3 separate regions of the Homo sapiens genome follow, and all the other regions are linked to region 1. Evidence: promoter capture Hi-C in 16 types of primary human blood cells and fetal thymus (Javierre and others, 2016). All regions are on one chromosome and are shown on one strand. Each heading gives the region's core, a stretch centred on a gene start or on the middle of the fragment in contact. The rest is flanking DNA. Distances are from core to core; before and after follow the strand shown.

Region 1 (2,963 bases), core at 271-2,770:
AATTTTATTTATTAAATGAAAGAATAGATTAATCTTGAAGTGAGAAAATGAAAATATAAGGAGTGACTTTAGCAAAGAAGAACAATGGTTCCCAAATGTATATCACCAATCCTTTTCTCTCATTTTCTTTAGCCCCACCTCTTTAATTGCTTATAGGCTATTTCTAGCTGAACTTTTATGATGTTGAAAACAAAAGTCTCCTTCCTTCCTTCCTTTCTTTTCTTTTCTTTCTTTCCTTTCTTTCCCTTCTTTTCTTTCTTTCTTTCCTTTCTTTCCCTTCTTTTCTTTCTTTCTTTCAAGTCTTGCTCCGTCGCCCAGGCTGGAGTGCAGTGGTGGGGTCTCGGCTCACTGCAACCTCTGCCTCTTGGGTTCAAACGATTCTCCTGCCTCAGCCTCCTGAGTAGCTGGGACTACAGGCGCGTGCCACCACACCCAGCTAATTTTTGTATTTTTAGTAGAGATGGGGTTTCACTATGTTGGCCAGGCTAATCTTGAACTCCTGAGCTGTGATCAGCCCACCTCGGCCTCCCAAAGTGTTGGGATTACAGGCGTAAGCCTCTGCACCCAGCCAAAACTCACCATCTTTCTTATCTTCCAAACTCAGTTTTATGATGACTTTCCTTCTCCAATGCATTTTAATCCTCTGCATTCCTACATTCCATTTATGTAACCTCCATACCTGAATAATGACTGACACTAACTCCACTTTTCCCAGCTGTCATGGCATAGTGAAAATTCCAGATCTGCCACTTAGTGGACAGGTACTTTGAACAAATTTCTTAACCTCTGGGAACATTACTTTCTATAAAATGGGGATAGTAATATGAATTAGAATAAATATATATGTTATAGATATACAACATAGATGTAATTCATATATATTAACCTTTCAATAGTAGATGTTCAATAAATTACAGCTATTGTTACCCTGAAATCAGTTTTTCTTTTTTTTTTTTTTTGGAAATGGAGTTTCGCTCTTGTTGCCCAGGCTGGAGTGCAATGGTGCAATCTCAGCTCACCGCAACCTCCGCCTCCCAGGTTCAAGTGATTCTTCTGCCTTAGCCTCCTGAGTAGCTGGGATTATAGGCGCCCGCCACCACACCCAGCTAATTTTTTTTTTGTATTTTTAGTAGAGACGGGGTTTCACCATGTGGGCCAGGCTGCTGACCTAAAACGATCCGCCTGCCTGGGCCTTCCAAAGTGCTAGGATTATATGCGTGAACCACCGCGCCTGACCATGGAATCAGTTTTTCAATCTGTGCTCGAGGTGTTGTGTTCTTAACTATCTTCTACTCCTTTGCAAAGATAATCTTTCTTAAACATAGACTTTCTAATCAGTTCTCTAGCATTGTTTCATTCTGTCTTTGGCATGTTTTCACTTTGCTGTGCTGTACTTTTACACATTCTTTTTAACTATAGCTTCCTGCTTTGCTCTGGATCAGGAAGCTATTGAAGCTGACACCCACAGAGTTAAACTGAGTTGCTGAAGCCACCAGCTCCCCCTCCCAGTCCTTCTTTTCAGAGTAGGCTGGCAGCTGTCCTAACTGCCTACTAAAGCCAAATGCTTGAGGAGAGAGAGAGAGTAAGGAGCCAGCCATGAATCCTTTCCAGAAAAATGAGTCCAAGGAAACTCTTTTTTCACCTGTCTCCATTGAAGAGGTACCACCTCGACCACCTAGCCCTCCAAAGAAGCCATCTCCGGTGAGTCCTTAGATTCAATCCTGCCTCTGAGAGGAATGGCCTCCCTCTTTTGGCTCTCTTCCTTGGGCTCTGGAGCTTCCAGCTGAGCTGTATTAGGGTATTAAAATGCTTCTCTCTTGGATTTAGAATTCACCTGAAACCAAATCTAAACAGAAGCTTCCTTTACATAAGAAGACAAAGCAGCAGGAAGAGGTAGTCAAAGTTCTTCAGTTGGGATCCAGGGACTTGCTGAATTTCATTGCATATTCTGTTTCCCTGGGGGAAAAAAGCAATTCGAATGTCCAGGGAAACTTGGCAAGCATTCTTGTCTGAAGAACTGTGTGTGATTGTTCTTTCTTTACCAATATAAAAACTCTGCCCTTAGTTCTCCCTGTGTGCAGAGTCTTCTGCTGAACACCAATGGAAGTTTCAGAATAGATCCAATTTCTGTTACTATGTGTTCCCAGTTTACTGTGGGAGATAGGACAGAGAAACAGAGAATAGTAATGTTTTGCATTTATATACTCGCTAAAGCACTTCTAAACTCATCATCTCAGTCAATTCTTACACTAAAATTCTGTAAGTGGGGAGGATATAGTAATGATAGCCAAAATTTACTGAGTTCTTACAGTGGGCCAAAAGGTGATGTTATTCTCATTTCTTTGGAATAACAGAACAGAGGTTTTGAGACAGGTGTAGTGACAATGCCAGTATCAGTATGTTAACACAGCCAGTGGCAGTGTTGCCTAACTAGCTAACAGTGTGTCGGCTAAACTCCAGATTGCATAATTCTCAAGCTGTGAGCTGCAAAGGTAAGAAGCCCAGTTCATTGTATGTTTCAAACAAGCTATTATAAAACATTAAAATATATTAATATTTAGGAGGATCATTTATATATATCCCTAGGGTTAAAAGAATAATACATTACTTTATTATTTTGCCTATTTTTTTAGTTAATGATATCTCTTCTGGTCCCAAAGAATTTAGGGCTACTTGCAAAGATGTATATACTTCTCATGAAATGAGGCAATATAAATCTTACAAGATTTGACTGTACTGAGGACAGATACCTCTATGTCTCTTCTCATGTTAGTTGGTCTATTGTAATAGATAGGGAATTAAAATAAAACATAACATTCCTTATATTCTGACTGATATATTACATGAAAAGCATAATTCTTTTAATGTCCAGTAGGATTATCATGAAAATGTTATAGAATCTCTTTAGTAGGAAGAGTAGACATTTAATTTTACAGGATTTAAGAACTCTGCCTAAAGTCAAG
Region 2 (2,963 bases), core at 243-2,742, 420 kb after region 1:
TTTAGTAGAGACGGGATTTCACTATGTTGGCCAGGCAGGTCTTGAACTCCTGACCTCATGATCCACCCGCCTCAGCCTCCCAAAGTGCTGGGATTACAGGCGTGAGCCACAGCGCCTGGCCTAAAACTTGACAAAGACATGTTTATCCAATGCCCTTCAAGGACTCCAGAAGTCCATGTTGGCTGGTTGCCCTCTTCTCCCAATGAGAAAGTGGTGAGATCTATGAATTTGTTCACATATTTGCTGGGCAGCTGCTGTGTTTCATAATCTGGGAGATGTGATGGCTAACAATCAAGACAACAGTTTCTGCCATGGAAGAGATTATAATCAGATCAGCAAGAAGATAAACAGAAAATATATGTGTAATAACTGAGATAACAGGAATATGTAGTACAAACCAAGAACTAGAGGAAACCACAGAAGGCTTTGGGTAGTGTGGTTTTTGAAAGCAGTATTGCATGTAGATTAATGGAGAACAGAAGGAATGACATCCTTTTCAAGGGGCATTGTATGAACAAGGAGACAGGAGCAAGAATGAGAATGAGAAAGAGGTGCAAGAGGATCTAAGAGGACCCAGCTAGAGAGAAACTCTGAGAGAGAATCTGGTTCAGGAAGACCTGTGAGTACTTGGAGGCTATTCTTAAAATTGTAAATGAATTTGATAGACGACAGGAAGTACCCAAGTTAGGAAGCAATATTTTTTCAGTGTATGAGAAAGAGCTTGGTTTTCAGGAGAAACTAGAAGGGTAGGATCCAACCAGGGAGTGTCAACAATAAGCCAATAAGAGGGTGATGAAAGCTTTAAGGGAGTGATAGCTATGAAAACAGCAAGGAAGGGTGAATTTGAAAGATGTTGCAAAGTCATCACCGCCAGTATGTTTGCATAATTCCTGGCAATATTCCCCCTCAGTTTCTATGCTATGAGCTTTTAAGTTGTAAATTGCCAACATCTTAGAAGTATTATGCCAAGACCTCATTTGTTTAGTTTAATGTAAGGTTTGGGTTGCTAATACGCTATTTCAGTCTTTAAAACTTCCTCTGTAAGAATCCAGTGTTTCTAAATATCAATGGATACAAATAAATAGAAGTTTTAAAGTTTAACTCTCCCTTCCCTTCTCTCCCAGGTGGCTGTGTCAGTGCAGGGGAAAAGGAACACTAGAAGGATCCAGGTGGAAATGACATAGAAGATAATGACACTCCCATGAAGTGGTGAAGCTATAGCCACCACCTGTCCCTGTTGATTAAAGAGCTCCACCTGCCTAGGCACAGCATCCTCAGCTAGGATTGGGGGTAGGCCACTGGGTTAGGACAAAACTTTGCAGGACTGACATGTTATAGGCCCCCATGTAGTATATACTAGATGTGCTGCAACAGGAACCCAGAATCCACCTGCACCCACCTCAATATGGATAGCACGTGTTGCCAACATCTGCTTTGGCTCTTTCTTCAGCTGTTTTCACGTGTTTTCTCTTTGTAAAAATGTTTTCCACCTAGCAGTGGACTACTCTTCCAGATTTCCACCTTTTCACCTCCCTCCTGCCTCTATAAACTTAGGACACCAACATTGTAAGTTACTAGGCTTCTAAATGTAATGCATATGAGAATCACCTGGGAGCTCTTTTTGAAATGCAGACTCTAGAGCCCACCCTCAAGAGATTGTAATTTAATGAATCTAGGAATGGGACTCAGGAATCTGCACTGAACAGGCATCCCAGCTGACTCTGGTGTGGGTGGTTCCCAGCCCAACTTACCAGAGCACTGCTAAGTTGAACCTAGCAGCATAATTAATCCATGCTAAAACCAAACTCATAAATTAACATTTATCAAGAAGCCTTTGAGAGCTTGGTTCTATGATTATGTATGAGTCTTAGGGCTCATTTTTCCTAGGGCATAAACTGATACTAAGTCACACTGGGAGAGCCTATGATCCGTGTATATTTCTGGCAGGGCAGAATTTTCTCTATATTGACAGGCACAGCAACATTGATTGTATAACATTACTCCACCCTGGAATTTACTATTAGTCATAAAAACTGAGGCAACTCCAGTATTGCTGGTTCATTTGATGAGTATTCAGTGTGGGTAGGCCTCTACAACAACTTCTTTCTCCCCTAAAGGGCAAAAACGCAACTCAACTCACAATCCAGGCTACTGAGCAGAGGTTTGAATGACCCCTGAGCCCATACAAGCTTCTCTACATTGTTCTGAGAGCACCCAAAAGCCACTGGGATTGTTGAGACCACTGGTTTCTTTGTCCTGAAGAGAAGAGAGAGGGAAATGATTGCTGCTACACTCACTTTGAAGTGAGAAAAGTTGCGGGTGGCTGAAAATTTTACTCTGAAAAGATGCTGGGTAGCTCTTTGTTCCTACAGCCCTGCAAACTATGCTCCTGATACAGAGTGGGGCAAGTGGGGCGGGAAAGTGCTGGGAAGGGAAAGGCGTAGTCCCTCGCTGGGGATCCAGCCCCAGACCTGTGCCCACAGACCTTGGTGAGGATGGGCATTTCTGTTCTCATGCCCAAATATTGCATTTCCCACGACCACCCTGGGCTGCCATACCCCTATCTTGTGCCTATAAAAACTCCAAGATCCTAGCGGGCACACACACAAGCAGCTGGACATCAAGAGGAACACACCAATGGTTGAGGACACAAGCGGCTGGAAATTGAGAGGAACACACCCGCGTAAGAGCACACCCACAGGCACTGACAGATTTCGGCAGGCCATCGACTGGTGGAACAATGCAGAGTTTGGCTGGGGTGGTCGGAGAAGAGCCCAGCTGCCCGGAAGCCCGATTGCAGGGGAAAACCACCTTCCCACTCCAGCCCCCTTCTGGCCTTCCCATCTACCTCGCTGAGAGCTACCACTCAATAAAAATCCTTACACTCATTCTCCAAGCCCACATGTGATCTGGTTCTTCTGGTACACCAAGGCAAAAACCCCGGGATACAGAACGCCCTCTGT
Region 3 (2,963 bases), core at 306-2,805, 300 kb before region 1:
AGAAAAGGAAGTTAAAGGCATCCAAATCGCAAAGAAAGAAGTTAAAATATTTTTGTTAACAGATGGCATGGTCTTGAAAATCCTAAGGAATCCACAAGAAAACTATTAGAACTAATAAACCAGTTCAGCAAAGTTTCAAGATACAAGATCAGTGTAGAAATTTTTTACAATTTTCAACTGCTATTTGCTCATTCCAAATAAGTTTACCTCCAAGGACATATATGTATGAAGAATCCAGGGGAAAGGTTAATTCGATGGCTGTTAATCACAGCCAAATTTAGCACATCTGCTGTTAGTCAAAATACATTCAAATACATTCAAATAACAGCTGGCATTGTGGAGCACTTGGCATGTGGTACATATCATTCATGTGCCTTATGTGTACTGACACAGTTACCTGTGGTCGCACCAAGTATCATCGCCATTTCACAATGGGGAAAACTGAAATAGAAAATGGTTAAGTAAATTTGTCAAAATCACATACCTAATCCCAGCACTTTGGGAGGCTGAGGTGGGAGGATCATGAGGTCAGGATTTCGAGACCAGCGTGACAAACATGGTGAAACCCCGTCTCTGCTAAAAATACAAAAATTAGCCAGGTATGGTGGTACGTGCCTGTAATCCCAGATACTCAGGAGGCTGAGGCAGGAGAATCACTTGAAGCCAGGAGGTGGAGGTTGCAGTGAGCCGAGATCACGCCACTGCACTCTATCCTGGGCAACAGAGCGAGACTCTGTCTCAAAAAAAAAAAAAAGAAAAAGAAAACACCAAAGCCGGGATTCTATATTTTTTTCACTCACAAGATCCTGAATGAGTTTATCTGAAGATGATAAGATAAAGAACGCTAGACTGAGAGTTAAACAAGCTCTCTGGGGCTTTCCTCTGGCTCTTCCACTAACGAGATGTGTGACCTTGGATGAGCAATTTCCCTTTTCTGAATCTCTGTCTCCTCATCTGTAAAAAGAGGGAGCTGGACTAAATGACAGCTAAAGCCTCCTACAACCTCTAATTCTCTCACACTGGATTTACTCTACACCTGGTATCTGAATTACAAACTCTCCCTTTTCCAGGAAAGATGAAAGGACCAGGGGAGGACAGACACTTACTTGTCACGACAAGAGATAGGAGAAACTGAAGCAGGACACCATGTCATTTGCACAAGTTGCTGCTTCAGCCAGTGATGGGTTTAGGTGAGGAGCATGGTTATAATTAGAGCAGCAGCCAGTCCTGAAGGCTGTGCCAGCCTCCTTCAGCACAGCTGGGCCTGCCGACTGCACATGCAGGAATCTGAGAGGCTGTTCTGGCCTTGAAAATGATCCTTCTTAAAAGGATTTTCCTCCTTCCTCAAGGGAAAGAAAACCTATTGATATAAAACTTCACTTCCCATTCAGTTTCCCCTGCTAAATGCCACTCCAGTAGAGACTGAGTGTTGATAAATACAGGGGAAGGAAAAAGTCGTAAGCTGAGCCTGGTCACATTGCCCCTTGTGATATCGTTTTATTTTTAACTTCGCAACACTTGGACTATTTCTGTTGAAGTTTTCTCTCCTTTCCCTGCCTTCCCAACAGAACGCTGTCCTCTACTGCAGCTGATGCAACCCAGCCACCTCCCGGCAATCCGCTTACTTGCAATCAAGGGTTCAGGTGCAAGCAGATGCTGACTCAGCCTGTTCCATTAAGGTAAGTATTCAAACAGGAGCAGGTGCACCATGACGAGGACATTCAGTGGTGAATATGCAGATGAAGCTGAGCCGCATATCACTTTTGTGTCCTGTGGAAGAGGATTGTTAAGCAAATTAGTTATGTAAAGATGTGGGGGAAAGGCTGGCACTGAGAATGAGATCCAGCCGTGTGTAAATTTCTGTTTCCATTTCAAGAGCAGGTAGAGTACTTGCTTTCTGACAGCTTAGGTTCTTTCTTCTATAATCAACAAGAGTAGTTATGATATCTGTAAAGTTACAACATGGTGATGGGTGGGGGGATCTGGGGAAGTGGAGGAGGTGGTGAGGAAACAAGTGGAAGGCCTAGAATCCAGGATTTCTATTCCCTTTTCTTTCTTTTTTGAGACAGTCTTGCTCTGTCACCCAGGCTGGAGTGCAGTGGCACCATCTTGGCTCACTGCAGCCCCTACCTCCCAGGTTCTAGTGATTCTCCTGCCTCAGCCTTCCGAGTAGCTGAGACTACAGGCACATGCCACCACATCCGGCCAATTTTTGTATTTTTTTAGTAGAGACAGAGTTTCACCTTGATGGCTAGGCTGGTCTTGAACTCCTGGCCTCAAATGATCCGCCCACCTCAGCCTCCAAAAGCGCTGGGATTACAGGTCTGAGCCACTGTGCCTGGCCCAGAATTTCTATTATTTATTTATTTATTTAATTCATTGTTATTATTTTTTTGAGACAGAGTCTCACTCTGTTGCCCAGGCTGGAGTGCAGTGGTGCAGTCTCAGCTCACTGCAACCTCCACCTTCTAGGTTCAAGAGAGCCTCCTGCTTCAGCCTCCTGAGTAGCTGGGACTACAGGCCTGTGCCACCACGCCTGGCTAATTTTTGTATTTTTAGTAGAGATGGGGTTTCACCATGTTGGCCAGGCTGGTCTTGAACTCCTGGCCTCAAGTGATCCACCCGCTTCGGCCTCCCAAAGTGCTGAGAATACAAGCATGAGCCGCTGTGCCTGATCAGAATTTCTGTTTTCTAAAGTCTAAATGCTGTGATCTTTTCTCCAGTCAACATTTGCTATGTTTGCTTGCAAGTCATTCTCATGTAGCTTAAAATTTCGTCTGCTGTGTCATACTACTGGTTAATAAGCACAACTGTATTTTCTGTATATACTATTCAAACTCCGCAGAGTTTAACACCTTTTTTTCGCCAACAATATTCTCTAAGTGTGGCCCTCTTCTCCCCAGCTCTCTTGAGTCCAAAATGCATCCATGAAATATAAGTGAAATATTTCTCAAGTTGAAAAA

Evidence for each region. Contacts are between HindIII fragments. The CHiCAGO score rates a contact against its expected background, and 5 or more counts as called.
Region 2: a fragment that was not itself captured here is called in contact with the fragment with the promoter of SLC15A2 in region 1 in 1 of 17 cell types (monocytes); the score reaches 7.6 in monocytes.
Region 3: the fragment with the promoter of FBXO40 here is called in contact with the fragment with the promoter of SLC15A2 in region 1 in 1 of 17 cell types (neutrophils); the score reaches 7.0 in neutrophils.

Annotation. Positions count from the first base shown.
Region 1 is chr3:121,892,881-121,895,843 of GRCh38, forward strand. SLC15A2 (solute carrier family 15 member 2) reads left to right here and starts at 1,521. Exons shown (of 22, transcript NM_021082.4): 1 at 1,521-1,701. The coding sequence starts at 1,597. RefSeq lists enhancers at 1-480, 481-1,013. The HindIII fragment of the contact is 13,918 bases long and covers 1-1,855 here.
Region 2 is chr3:122,312,656-122,315,618 of GRCh38, forward strand. No RefSeq gene overlaps it. Among named protein-coding and RNA genes, the nearest start is that of CSTA, 11 kb to the right of the region's middle. The HindIII fragment of the contact is 1,390 bases long and covers 798-2,187 here.
Region 3 is chr3:121,591,824-121,594,786 of GRCh38, forward strand. FBXO40 (F-box protein 40) reads left to right here and starts at 1,556. Exons shown (of 4, transcript NM_016298.4): 1 at 1,556-1,679. RefSeq lists enhancers at 913-2,112, 926-1,576, 1,577-2,228 and a silencer at 1,499-1,793. The HindIII fragment of the contact is 3,467 bases long and covers 1-2,963 here.